Linked DNA regions of Homo sapiens: regions 2, 3, 4 and 5 are each linked to region 1. Evidence: promoter capture Hi-C in 16 types of primary human blood cells and fetal thymus (Javierre and others, 2016). All regions are on one chromosome and are shown on one strand. The core of a region is centred on a gene start or on the middle of the fragment in contact, and the rest is flanking DNA. Distances in the headings are between cores, read along the strand shown. Region 1 holds the start of ZNF500 (zinc finger protein 500). Region 2 overlaps MGRN1 (mahogunin ring finger 1). Region 3 overlaps UBN1 (ubinuclein 1). Region 4 overlaps MGRN1 (mahogunin ring finger 1). Region 5 overlaps GLYR1 (glyoxylate reductase 1 homolog).

The links. The method cuts DNA at HindIII sites, captures the fragments that hold promoters and counts their contacts. A CHiCAGO score of 5 or more calls a contact.
Region 2: a contact is called between a fragment that was not itself captured here and the fragment with the promoter of ZNF500 in region 1, in 2 of 17 cell types (erythroblasts and neutrophils). The highest score is 5.2, in erythroblasts.
Region 3: a fragment that was not itself captured here is called in contact with the fragment with the promoter of ZNF500 in region 1 in 1 of 17 cell types (erythroblasts); the score reaches 5.6 in erythroblasts.
Region 4: a fragment that was not itself captured here is called in contact with the fragment with the promoter of ZNF500 in region 1 in 1 of 17 cell types (neutrophils); the score reaches 5.3 in neutrophils.
Region 5: a fragment that was not itself captured here is called in contact with the fragment with the promoter of ZNF500 in region 1 in 7 of 17 cell types (erythroblasts, megakaryocytes, monocytes and 4 more); the score reaches 12.8 in erythroblasts.

What each region holds. Positions count from the first base shown.
Region 1 is chr16:4,765,912-4,768,531 of GRCh38, forward strand. ZNF500 (zinc finger protein 500) reads right to left here and starts at 1,251. Exons shown (of 6, transcript NM_021646.4): 1 at 1,106-1,251; 2 at 1-165. The coding sequence starts at 67. RefSeq lists a silencer at 998-1,297 and an enhancer at 2,490-2,569. The HindIII fragment of the contact is 2,671 bases long and covers 1,064-2,620 here.
Region 2 is chr16:4,641,889-4,644,508 of GRCh38, forward strand. The region is part of intron 1 of MGRN1 (mahogunin ring finger 1); the gene reads left to right. Among named protein-coding and RNA genes, the nearest start is that of MGRN1, 18 kb to the left of the region's middle. The HindIII fragment of the contact is 4,575 bases long and covers 1-2,620 here.
Region 3 is chr16:4,871,485-4,874,104 of GRCh38, forward strand. It overlaps UBN1 (ubinuclein 1), which reads left to right. Exons shown (of 18, transcript NM_001079514.3): 13 at 1,400-1,450; 14 at 1,547-1,589. Among named protein-coding and RNA genes, the nearest start is that of UBN1, 25 kb to the left of the region's middle. The HindIII fragment of the contact is 5,729 bases long and covers 1-2,620 here.
Region 4 is chr16:4,680,116-4,682,735 of GRCh38, forward strand. It overlaps MGRN1 (mahogunin ring finger 1), which reads left to right. Exons shown (of 17, transcript NM_015246.4): 13 at 1,435-1,661. Among named protein-coding and RNA genes, the nearest start is that of MIR6769A, 10 kb to the left of the region's middle. The HindIII fragment of the contact is 3,050 bases long and covers 1-2,620 here.
Region 5 is chr16:4,833,227-4,835,846 of GRCh38, forward strand. All of the region lies in intron 3 of GLYR1 (glyoxylate reductase 1 homolog), which reads right to left. Among named protein-coding and RNA genes, the nearest start is that of GLYR1, 13 kb to the right of the region's middle. The HindIII fragment of the contact is 1,030 bases long and covers 773-1,802 here.

The DNA.
Region 1 (2,620 bases), core at 1-2,500:
GGATCTCTTCCTGTTCCAGGTCCTGCTCCAAGGTTGGCAGGGGCTGGAGGCCAGGGACAGTGGCCATTGCTTCCGGTGGGCCTTGTTCCTTTTCAGGCCTTAGAGTTGAACCTGTCTCTCTCTATACCTCTGGCCAGACACAGGAAGAGAGTTTTTTTCAGGGCCCTGTGGAGAGACGATAAAACCATCTGAAGGGCAGCCCTGGGGCTGGATAAGCCCTTTGGCCTGGGAAGCCCCTGCCCTGGTTCCAAGGCCAGCTCACCCCACCATGGAAAAGGAAAAGGAAGTGGATGAATGTCATCTTTGTTATTAACCCCCTGTTAATTCCCGGGTAATTTACTGAAGGGCTCTGGGCTTTGCTTCCTCACTGGGCAAACAGAGATGATAACAGGACCTACACACACAGGTTGCTGACAGAACTAAAAGGGATGGCTGGGGGCAGTAGCTGACGCCTGTAATCCCCGCACTTTGGGAGGCAGAGGAGGGCAGATCACGTGAGTTCAGGAGTTGACCACCTGGTCAACGTGGTGGAACCCTGTCTCTACAAAAAATACAAAAATTAGCCCGACATGGTGGTAGCACATCTGTAATCCCAGCAACTCGGGAGGCTGAGACAGGAGAATCGCTTGAACCCGGGAGATGGAGGTTGCAGTGAACTGAGATAGCGCCACTGCACTCCAGCCTGGGCGACAGAGAGAGACTCAAACAAAAACAATCTAAAAGGGATGTTTGCGGTCAGAGCTCGAGAATCGTTATTTTCCATGATTAGAGTGGGTCCTATATGGAAGGGGTTCCTTTGGAAATCTGATGAAAAGTAGGGCCTTTCTGCAGACTCTGCCTCAACTTGATCCCCGGTGTCCAGGTCTGGCGAACCCTGAAGCCCCTACGCGGCCCCGTCAGGCACCCCCGCGTGGGTGGTCACGACAGCCCCCCAATTCCAGGGTCCTGGGAGAGCTGGGACCCCCAGGCCGGGCTGCTTTCCCGTCTCATCCCTCAGGTGGAGGGTGAGCGGTACCCGAGGCCGCGGCACAGACCCGGGTGCTGGCGCGGGCCGCGAAATCGAAGCTTCGGCCGGGACCCGCGTCCCCGCGCCCCCCGCACTCACTGGAAGCGCTGCCGGCCGTGGGCAGTTCGGGGCAGGACCGGAGCGGCGGGTCTCGGCGGGAGTAGGACTGCGGGCCTCAGGCTTGGCAGCCAGGGACGCCAGAGCCGGGGCCGAAGACCCTAAACCAGGGGTGCAAACCAGGCCGTGCGGGTGGGCCCGCAGGCGGCATTGTGGGTAACGTAGCCGTGGCACCATTGGCTAAGCCGGCCGTTGGGGGCGTGGCAACACGGCCGAGTGGGCGGGTCCGCGACGTGCACTGTGGTTAATGTGGTCCTCAAAGGCACGCATTGTGGGTAACGTAGTCCAGCACCTCGGTGACCGCGCGAGCGTGCGGCGACTCTGCAGCCTCTGGGCTACTTTCCCAGTCACTGTTCCACACCCGCTCCGCTCTCCTCTGGCCGCCTCCTCCATCTTTAAAGCCAGCAAAGTCGTCCGGGCACGGTGGCTCACACCTGTAATCCTAGCACTTTGGGAGGCCGACGCGGGCGGATCACCTGAGGTCGGGAGTTCGAGACCAGCCTGACTAACGTGGAGAAACCTGGGCGTGGTGGTTCATGCCTGTAATCCTAGCTACTCAGGAGGCTAAGGCGCAGGTTGCAGTGAGCCGACATCCTGCCATTGTCCTCCAGCCTGGGCAACAAGAGCGAAACTCCATCTCAAAAAATAAATAAATAAATAATAAATAAATAAAATAAATAAAGGCAGAAGTTGTTCAAGATAAAACTGGAAGAGATGCCAAGTGCTTGCGCCCACCCTCCCCCAAGAGGGCCCCCAACAACGTCCAACCCCAAATATCCCTTGTCCTGCCTGCTTCTTTCTGACAACATAATAATGGGCATCAATCTTTGTTGTTGTTGTTAGAGATGAAGTCCCACCATGGTGCCTAGGCTGGTCTCAAACTCCTGGGCCCAAGCAATCTTCCCGCCTCAGCTTCCCAAAGTGTCAGGATTACAGGTGTGCCCAGCCAGGTATCAATTCTTGTATGTATGTATTTATTTATTTAGAGACAGGGTCTCACTCTGTCGCCCAGGCTAGAGTGCAGTGGCTCGACCTTGGCTCACAGCAACCTCCGCCGCCCGGTTTTAAGCAATTCTCCTACCTAACCTCCCGAATAGTTGGGATTACAGGCACGAACCACCAGGTCCGGCTAATTTTTGTATTTTTAGTAGAGATGGGGTTTCCCCATGTTGCCCAGGCTGGTCTCCAACGGCCTCAAGCAATCCACCCACGTCAGCCTCCCAAAGTGCTGAGATTACAGGAGTAAGCCACCGCTCCCGGTCGCATCAATTCTTGAGCATCAAGCAAGCAAAACACATTTGTACTTCGTTTCTTCCTCATTTAGTAATAGAGGTACTATAACTAGACCTACCGGTTCAACAAAACAAAACAAAACCCTGAAGCTCTGAGAGTTTTAAGTATTGAACCCCCCAGAGAAGGTCAAACAGGAAGTACAGAAATGGGATTGGAACCCAAATCTTTGATTCCAGAACTTCAGCTCCTAACTACCAGGTTAAC
Region 2 (2,620 bases), core at 60-2,559, 120 kb before region 1:
AGCCATCTTGCCCACCTTGGCCTCCTAAAGTGCTGGGATTATAGGCGTGAGCCCCCTCGGCTGGCCTGGATTCTCTGTGAGGTGTTTCCAGTTCTTCCCAGTTGGTCTCGTCTCCTGCAGGTGTGAGTTGTTGATTGTCTGCGCCGTGTTGATCACGTAGACCCTGTTCTTGAGTGCTGAGGGTCCATCCGGTAACCCTGCACTGTCATGCATTTCCCTGTCAGCATATGACTTGGTTCCTTTTTTTTTTTTTTTTTTAAAAAAGACCGTCTTGCTCTTTCGCCCAGGCTGGAGTGCAGTGGCGCGATTTCAGCTCGCTGCAACCTCTGCCTCTTGGGTTCGAGAGATTCTCCTGTCTCAGCCTCCCGAGTAGTGGGGATTACAGGCATGAGCTAATTTTTGTATTTTTATTTATTTATTTATTTTTGAAACGGAGTCGTCTTCTGTCACCCAGGCTGGAGTTCAATGGTGTGATCTCCGCTCACGGTAACCTTCGTCTCCTGAGTTCAAGCGATTCTCCTGCCTCAGCCTTCTGAGTAGCTGGGATTACAGGCATGCACCACCACGGCCAGCTAATTTGTGTGTGTGTGTGTGTGTGTGTGTGTGTGTGTGTTTTTAGTAGAGATGGGGGTTTCACCTTGTTGCCAGACTGGTCTTAAACTCCTGACCTTGTGATCCGCCCGCCTCGGCCTCCCAAAGTGCTGGGATTACAGGCGTGAGCCACCGCACCCGGCCCTAATTTTTGTATTTTTAGTAGAAACAGACTTTCCCATGTTGGCCAGGCTGGTCTTCAACTCCTGACGGCAGACCTCAAGTGATTTGCCTGCCCTGGCCTCCCAAAGTGCTGGGATTACAGGGGTGAGCACCGTGCCTGGTGGGTTATAATTTTTAACGCTTGAATTTTTTTTTTTTTTTTGTTAAAGGGTCTGGCTCTGTTGCCTAGGCTATAATGCAGTGGCTTGATCAGGGTTCACTGCAGCCTTGACCTCCCAGGCTCAAGTGATCCTTCCACCTCAGCCTCCCGAGTACCTTGGACTGCAAGTACGCATCACCGTGCTAGCTAATTTTTTTTGTTTTGTTTTGTTTTGAGACAGTCCCACTCTGTCACCCAGGCTAGAGTGAAGTGGCACAATCTCAGCTCACTGCAGCCTCTGCCTCCCAAGTTCAAGCGATTCTCGTGCCTCAGCCTCCTAAGTAGCTGGGACTATAGGCACACACCACCATGCCTGGCTAATTTTTGTATTTTTAGTAGAGATGGGATTTCGCCATGTTGGCCAGGCTGGTCTCAATCTCGATCTCCTGACCTTGTGATCCACTCCTCTCGGCCTCCCAGAGCACTGGGATTATAGGCACGAGCCACTGAGCCTGGACTAATTTTTGTATTTTTGGCAGAGATGGGGTTTTGCCATGTTGTCCAGGCAGGTCTCGAACTGCTGGGCTCAAGTGAACCTCCCACCTTGGCCTCCCAAAGTGGTAGGATTACAGGCGTGAGCTACTGTACCCGGCCTTGCTTGATTTTTTTTTTTTTTTTTTTTTCTGAGACAGAGTCTCCCTCACTGCAACCTCCGCTTCCTGGGTTCAAGGAATTCTCCTGCCTCAGCCCCTCCCAAGTACCTGGGACTACAGGCGCGTGCCACCACACCTGGCTAATTTTTTGTATTTTTTAGTAGAGACGGGGTTTCACCGTGTTAGCCAGGATGGTCTCCATCTCCTGACCTCGTGATCCACCTGCCTTGGCCTCCCAAAGTGCTGGGATTACACGCGTGAGTCACCGCGCCTGGCAAAAATCTTGTATTGATCATATTGTGTGTCTGCAACCAAAATATGCGCACCAATTGAAATTAGAATTTTAAATAATTTTACATCATAAGCTGTGAGTTTTTCGTGTTTTGAATGGCCATTACTAATACCCAATTGATCAAACAAATATTCCAGTTTTTATCAATAACAAGAAGAAATACGAAAAAACATTGGAAATATGTCTCTTGAGTAGATGGGTTCCTTTTTCTCCTGGTTAATTCATGCATTCACAGTTGGATACAAGCTGTTGCTAAAATGATTTCAGCCTCAATGCTAGTTTTTTTTGTTTGTTTGTTTTTTTTGAGATGGAGTCTCGCTCTGTTGCCCAGGCTGGAGTGGAGTGAGGTGGTGCAATCTCGGCTCCCTGCAACCTCTGCCTCCCAGATGCAAGCAATTCTGCTGTCTTGGCCTCCTGAGTAGTTGGGATTACAGGCATGTACTACCACTCCCGGCTAATTTTTTTTTGTTTTGTTTTGTATTTTTAGTAGAGATGGGGTTTTACCATGTTGGCCAGGCTGGTCTAGAACTCCTTACCTCAAGTGATCCACCCCCCTCAGCCTCCCAAAGTGCTGGGTTTACAGGTGTTAGCCACCGTGCTTGGACCCCTCAATTACCAGTTTTTTTTTTTTTTTTTTTTTGATGGAGTTTCACTCTTGTTGTCCAGGCTGGAGTGGACAGCTGGCCCAATCTCAGCTCACGGCAACCTCTGCCTCCCAGGTTCAAGCGATTTTCCTGCCTCAGCCTCCCAAGTAGCTGGGATTACAGGCACACACCACCACGCCTGGGTAATTTTGTATTTTTAGTAGAGACAGGGTTTCTC
Region 3 (2,620 bases), core at 37-2,536, 110 kb after region 1:
GAGGAAGGGAAGTTGCCTCCAGGGTTTTGTTTTTGTCATTTTTTGTCCCACTTCAGTTGATGTTTGGCCTCCCATCTCAATATGCACTTTCCTTTTTTTTTTTTTTTTTTTTTTTTTTTTGAGATGGAGTCTCGCTCTGTTGCCTGGGCTGGAGTGCAGTGGTATGATCTCAGCTCACTGCAAGCTCCACCTCCCAGGTTCACGCCGTTCTCCTGCCTCAACCTCCCGAGTAGCTGGGACTACAGGTGCCTGCCACCATGCCCGGCTAATTTTTTGTATTTTTAGTAGAAATGGGGTTTCACCGTGTTAGCCAGGATGGTCTCAATCTCCTGACCTTGTGATCTGCCCACCTTGGCCTCCCTAAGTGCTGGGATTACAGGCGTGAGCCACCACACCCGGCCACACTTCCTGTTTTAACATACAGGCTGCTATGAGCATTTGAGAGATGGGTTCATCTTGGGTCTTTCCTGATGTTCCTGAAGAAGTGTCATTTGCAGGTAGCAGGGCTGACTCCTTATTGGAACTAAGTGCCAGGCTTCCATCTCAGAGGCTACCTTGTACGAAGTCACTTCCTGCGAATGAAGTATTTGTGTCATACATGGGACAGAGAAAGTTAGCTGGAGTGATTTTCTTGATTGGACTCGAATCATCTGTTGTGCGGATAGATCTTGGAACCTTTGAAATTGCTGTCCTCTCTACGTAGGCTGGACTCATACGAAGAACGTTTTTGTTGAGTTTCTCTGGACAAAGACATGCTGGGTCACTCCACATTTTATTCCTGGAATGGAGGGACTAGGCAATAAGGAAAGTGCTGTGCCCTTTAGGGAAGCATCACCATGAGAGGTTTGAGGCAGAGCCATACATTTTCTTGGTAAAGGCCAGACTCAGCCTTTGGGCAGCCAGTGTGTCCCATTGAGATCCTCTCACCAGGAATTTGGCTCCCCAATCCATTGACCTTTTTTTTTGTGTGTGTGGGGGGTGGGTGGGCATGGTGGGGGGGCGGGGACAAAGTCTCACTCTGTTGCCCAGACTGGAGTGCAATGGCACGATCTCGGCTCACTGCAACCTCCGCCTCCCCGGTTTGAGCGAATCTCCTGCCTCAGCCTCCCGAGTAGCTGGGATTACAGGCGTGCGCCACCACGCCTGGCTAATTTTAGTATTTTTAGTAGAGACGGGGTTTCACCATGTTGGCCAGGCTGGTCTCGAACTCCTGACCTCAGGTGATCCACCTGCCTTGGCCTCCAAAAGTGCTGGGATTACAGGCGTGAGCCACTGCGCCTGGCCAGTTGACATTTAATGAGGGATAGCTACTGAGGACCAGGGACACTAGCAAAGTTCTGGAAGCAGAGTCCCAGCTTTCTGGGGCATGTACAGATGCCTGGTGTTCTGTGTCTTTCAGAACTCTGTTTAAGGAGAGCAGACGAGGCCATGGGCACCTGACTTCAATCCTGTGAGTGTCTTGGTATTTTCACATCTCGGGACAAGTGTTGTTTTTGGTCTCCTCTGGATATTCTCTAAACTTTTCTGTGCTCATTCCTTTGAACAGGGCCAAGAAGAAAGTTATGGCCCCTTCTAAAATCAAGGTGAAGGTGAGTCAGTTTGCTCGGGTCACATGTCAGCTATGCCCATCTCCCTACAACTATGCTCTGGAAACAGTCAAGTGACTGTGGAAGCTCATTGATCTTTGCTCGTCTGGGGACAGCTGCTCAGGATGACATTCTTGAAGTCATAACAGGACAGAGACCCAAGCCACTTAACCCCCCTCTAGCCTTGGTTCTACAAACAGTACCCAGCTGGCCCAGTTCCTGGGGTTCATGTGGGATTAAGTGGGATCTTCTTGGCAGCCCTCTGAGGAGTCAGTAGTCCCTGAAGGTGTGAACGTGTTACACTGTGATCTTTGTATGGAAGAAATACACTCTAGCCAAGTGCAGTTTAGCTTGGAGCCACAGCAGAAAGAAAAGGCGACTTTACTGAGCTACCAGGCAGAAATGGAGGGCAATATAGTGGCTGGAGAATAGACACTGTGAAAATTACCTTAGATGTTGCAGAAACCTCTCAATGTAGTAAAAATTGCTGTTTATCAACATTTTTCCCAGTTCTTAGTGTGGTGCCCTTAGCCATCCCTAAGCAGACCGTGAGAATGAGATGTGCAAATCATTTACTCCTAAGTATCTGTTGAGCTCCCACAATGTCCCAGACACACTGTATTAAGCACCAGGGATGCAGGAGTGAAGGATTAGACCCCATTCCTGTTCCCATGAAAAGCTCACTCTTCTTTGAACCCAGTCTGAGGAGATGGGTGCTGGGAAAAATCAAGAAGGGAAAAATAGCTGCTTTAAGGCAATTCTCATGCCATGCCTTGGTCTGATTGCAGCTAGGAGTGCGCTGAGACAGTGGGAATGCCAGTAGGCAGAGTATCTCTTCACGAGAGTCTTAACGCTTTTCAAAACAGAAGAAAGTTTCTCCTGGCGGCTTGTTTGTACTTAGCAACGAAGCATGCCGGGGTAAACCCAGCCCTGGCCAACCAGATACTCACCAGGGGTGATGAAGTCATGGCATCTAAAGTCAAGGCGGGCACAGCTCCTGCTCTGTCCCACCACTTGTCTTGTAATTATACAGG
Region 4 (2,620 bases), core at 75-2,574, 86 kb before region 1:
GGCTACGTTTTTTTGCCCCCGCCCTCATTTTTAAACCCACGACAAGTAGGGGAGATCGTTTCCGCCCCAGGCTAGTGTCTGATTCATATAACCCGTCAGCTCCACTTGCCCAGTCCCGGCCTCCCTGCCCAGGGAGTTTGTGGAACCGGAAAAGCTCTCGGTCCGTGGGCGAAACGCCAGGTGCGCTGGCCCCGCCGCCCTCCCCTCAGCTTTGCCTCCGCCCCGCGTGGCCCCCGTGCCGTTTCCCTTTTTTTTCTTGCTGGCAGTGGAATGGACGTTGCAGGCGGAACTAACGTCGCTGCTGCGTTTTGCAATCGCGCCCCGCGCATGCTTCTTGGCCCCGTGTCCCGCTCCTTTACCCTGCGGGTTCGAGCTCCTTGGGCTGAGCTTTTTGGTTTCCTTGGGCTTCCCTTGTGCCCCAGGGAGCAGGCAGGGGGACCAGCACACAACCACCTGGAGCCTCCGTGGCCCAGGCAGACCCAGCCGAAACCCTGTGTGCGTTGGTGTAGAAGGTGGAGGCCACTCCGGAGCCACCCGGACCGTGTTTTCCTTTCTAGAGGGGTGAGGGGATTCTGTGTGGTTATTTACCCTTAACTTGGAGGCAGGTATGGGAGCAAATGTGGGGTACACAGAGGTCCAGAAAAGCATCCCGGGCTCATTGCCCGGGCCGTGCCCGCTCCCCCATTTCTCCCCCACCTCCCCGTGGTCTCCAGGCATCCCGCACCCATCTCACTTTCCCCTTCCTTCCAGGAGCTCGGTCAGGCAGGCCGGGGTCTCCCGAAAGGAGCACTGACGAGCGTTGTGCCCCTCAACCTGGTTTTGTGGGGACAGAGCAGGGGCCCCCGCAGTCTGACTTCCGTTCCCCAGAACCTGGGCATTTTCCTTCTTCCTCAGCCTTGTTGATTCTGTCTGCTCCCAGTGAGGGAAGAACAGTGGCTCTTAGCCAGGGTGCCCGTTAGAACCACCTGGAGCAGGTCAGCCCCCAGAGGCCCGGGCAGGGCACAGCTCCCAACAGCTCAGCTCTCCCTGGTCCAGGACGCCCCTGACCGTGTCTCTCGCCTCTGGCATGGCTTTGCTCTGCCCCCGCTCCCAGCTCCTGTCTGTCACTAACCCTTCACTCTCCACCTGGGGCCAGGCGGGACTGAAAGCCAGGGAGGGGCTGGTTGAGGCCAGGGCTGGGGCGGTTCTTGGCAGATGCCCTCGTGCCCGTCATCCCAGGCACCAGCGTGGGCATTTGGGCATCCAGCCCCGTGCTGGAGCTGATGGCTGAGGCAGGGAGGGCATCGGTGCTGCCAGGGAGCTCTTGGCCACCCTCTGAGGGTGGGGGAGTCTCAATCCCCCAAAGAACAGAGTGGACAGGAGGTCATCAGGAGGAGCGTCTGGGGAGCAGGTGGTCCCTGGGCATGAGCCCCCTCACGCACCCTGTCCCTACAGAACTCTGACAGCGTCCCACCTGGCTACGAGCCCATCTCGCTGCTCGAGGCGCTCAACGGCCTCCGGGCTGTCTCCCCGGCCATCCCCTCGGCCCCTCTTTATGAAGAAATCACCTATTCAGGCATCTCGGACGGCCTGTCCCAGGCCAGCTGTCCCCTCGCGGCTATCGACCACATCCTGGACAGCAGCCGCCAGAAGGGCAGGCCGCAGAGCAAGGCCCCCGACAGGTGAGCAGCAGCCAGGCCAGGTGCATGGCAGGGTGTGTGGTGGCGCGCGTGCGGAGCGGGTGTCTTTGTGGTTTCAAATCAGTTTGTGATGTGTTCTGTGTGGCGATTCCCCAGAAGGACTCGGAGACCCCGTATCAGGTTAGACTCATGGGTAAAGTTTATTACGGCAAAGAACGCAGCAGACGAGGCAGGAAGAGCGTCCGGGCAGCTGGAGGCTTTGATCCCCCGACCAGGGCCACACCGGCGTGCAGGCGCATACGTGCTCTCGAGCAGGAAACTGCAGGGGTCGGTGCTGTGTCTCTGCTGAGGGGAGCCCCTTTGAGCCTCTGGGTTCCCAGACTTCATTGGGGGGCTGGCCACGTAGGCCCACTCTGCCGGTGACCAGCCAGGGCAGCCGAAACTCAGGACCTGACAGTGACCCAGGCACACTCACTGCTCTTGCCGTTCGCCCGTGACGAGCCACGGGGCACGGTCCCTCTCCAGGCGATGAGTGCATCATCCATCACTCATACGACAGCCTTCGGAGGGCCTGGCTCCTGGGGTTGGCCACGGGTCATTCGTGGTTCCCCTGGAGCCTTGCGGTGTATAGAGCGGCGGCTGCCAGGGGGACTCTGTGCCTCAGGCCTGTCGGTTCTCGTAGAAGAGTGTCAGGAAGGCGCGGGTTCTGCAGGCCCGCCCTGGGCACCCTCCATGCCCACGAGGAGGCAGCGCCAAAGCTCAGAGAAACGGGGGCCTCTGTCTCCTGCTGCTTCTCCTCCCCAGGAACCACCAGCGGTTTCTCTTCTCCTTCTAGAAAGAAAAGGAAGGCTAGGCCCGTGCCAGTGTGTCGGGAGCCCCTCTGTCGGGCGGGTCTGTGGTGGCCGCTGTTGCCTGTTGGCCGTTTGGGTTGGTCCCGGTGGCTGGTGATGCCCTTCTCCAGGGAGTGTCCTTGCGTGGGTCCTGGCAGGCGTGTGCAGGGG
Region 5 (2,620 bases), core at 38-2,537, 67 kb after region 1:
TATACGCTGCCACTTGCTCAGGGCAGAAAGAAATCTGGAGACCCTTTCCCATTCTCACCAGGCAGCACAAATGGCCACACACAGATCCCTGGGAATCAGGGTACCTGGAAATGTGATAGATGATAGCAGCATTACTATGCAGGAAAATGCCTGCTGCCTGTCAACAATGGGAACCAGATTTATGATCTGTTGATCCACAGAGAGTCAGGGATGTTACAGAGCTGAAGAAATGCAACATCTTCTAAAATTTGTGGTTCCTATGGATATTCACAGCCACTGAGCCTATATTTGTTCATAAATGATGGTAACCATGGCTACTAAACCACACAAAACACGGAACACATGGTTTGGAATAAGGGCAGCAGTTACAAAAGGAGGCATTTAAAAACAAGATGGCATGCTGTTTTATGATGTCTCAAAAAAAAAAAAAAATAGAAACAAGATGCTTGAGATTAAAGGTAGAAGAACATACACCTCCGATATGTAATTTTTAATTTCAACCATCAATGTGTAACACATGAAAGTGAAAGTAGTCAGCTGTCAATTCTGGGGTTTCTGATCTGTCACACTAACCTGAACAAATCTGCTGCAGCTGGCTTTCTATGGCTTCCCTGAATGGCATGCAGCTTATAGAATCCAAGCACAAAATAATTTTATAGGCTTTACAAGGTATCAGTTAGTTTACATGTTTTAGCCTGTGATACAGGTTTCACAGCATAACCTTCAGAAAAAGTAGGTCAGGTTAAGGATACAGAAACCCAGCTATCTCACAAGCTTCAGGTTGTTTTCTTCATAGAAAGCTAGAGAATATTCACTAACAGCAAGTGTTAACCTTTGCACATAAAAATAATGTTACTAACCCTCCACCAGCTACCTGGACTTTGAGTGTGCTGCTGGTAGTTGTGATAATGGGGTCTGTGCAAAAACACAGACCTGGGATCATCGGCCTGCAGATGTCAGGCAGCGAACCACTATCAGGCATGCCACCATGGCTAAGTGAGATGATGAATGGAGATACAGAAGCTGGTCTCCCTGGCACAGCTCCAACTAGAGGAGTTAGGCAAATTCCTTTTTTTTTTTTTTTTTTTTTTGAGACGGAGTTTCACTCTTGTTGCCCAGGCTGGAGTGCAATGGGGCGATGTTGGCTCACGGCAACCTCGCCTCCTAGGTTCAAGTGATTCTCCTGCCTCAGCCTCCCAAGTGCTGGGATTACAGGCGTGAGCCACCACACCTGGCCTTTTTTTTTTCCTTTTTGAGACAGAGTCTCATTTTGTCACCTAGGATGAAGTGCAGTGGCACGATCTTAGCTAACTGCGACCTCCGCCTCCACCTCCCAGGTTCAAGCAATTCTGCCTCTATCTCCCGAGTTGCTGGGACTACAGGTATGCACCACCACACCCAGCTAATTTTTATGTTTCTAGTAGAGACGGGGTTTCCCTGTGTTGGCCAGGCTGGTCTTGAACTTCTGGCCTCCAGTGATCCACCTGCCTTGGCCTCCCAAAGTGCTGGGATTACAGGTGTGAGCCAGCAAACTCCTTTCCAGTGACCAACTCATCTTAAAGTTTGAAATTCAACATGAGAGCGCCAATGAGTCCAATCTGCTGGGAGGAAAAGTGGAAGGAGATTTCGACCCCAGATTTTCTGGCAAGAATATCCCTGAACTGACTCCGTTCCCTCTCCTTACAGGGATGCTAATGACAGGCCAGAGCAATCAGATGCAAAGTCAGACCCAGCCCCAAAAGCCAGTGAAGCTACCATACTAACCCGTGGGTCTGAGATGACACAACCAGTATCAAGGATGAAGCTTAAGGAGTCGTGACCAGCCAGTTCTTCCTAGGAGCTTCTGGTCAGAAGCTGAGAACCACACAAGTTCCCAATATAGGACCAAAAAGGTGATTTTTATGGAACCCCTTGAGATGGGACAACAGACTCCGAGACTTGCTAATCCCACCCACGCCATCCTGCTACCTCCATCCCTGCCTCCCACTACCCAGCCTCACAGGAACCCGATTCTGAGGGAACAGAAAGGTGAGGATGTCTGTGAAGTGCCAAGGAATCAACCCCATTTTTTGTTGAAGCATCTTACAAGGTTTACTGATTTCTGCTAGAAGGAACTGTACAGTCAAAATTCCACTCACTTTAAAGCATTTGAGATACTAAAATTTTCCTCTTTACAACCATCTTCGAAACATTAAAATGGCTAAATGAACTGACAGTATGAATAGGATGGTAAATCCAAGAAATGTTAATCTATTTAAGGAATCAACTTATTGCTGGAGAAGCATCCTGTTACATCAAAAAACAGCCATAAAAAACCAGCTTGGCTGGGCACGGTGGCTCACACCTGTAATCCTAGCACTTTGGGAGGCCGAGGCAGGCAGATCACCTGAGGTTAGGAGTTTGAGACCAGCCTGGCCAACATGGTGAAATCTCGTCTCTACTGAAAATATAAAAATTAGCTGGGTGTAGTGGCACGCAGCTGTAATCCCAGCTACTCGGAAGGCTGAGACAGGAGAAACACTTGAACCCAGGAGGCGGAGGTTGCAGTGAGCCAGTATTGTGCCACTGCACTCCAGCCTGGGCAACAGAGTGAGACTCCACCTCAAAAACAGTAACAACA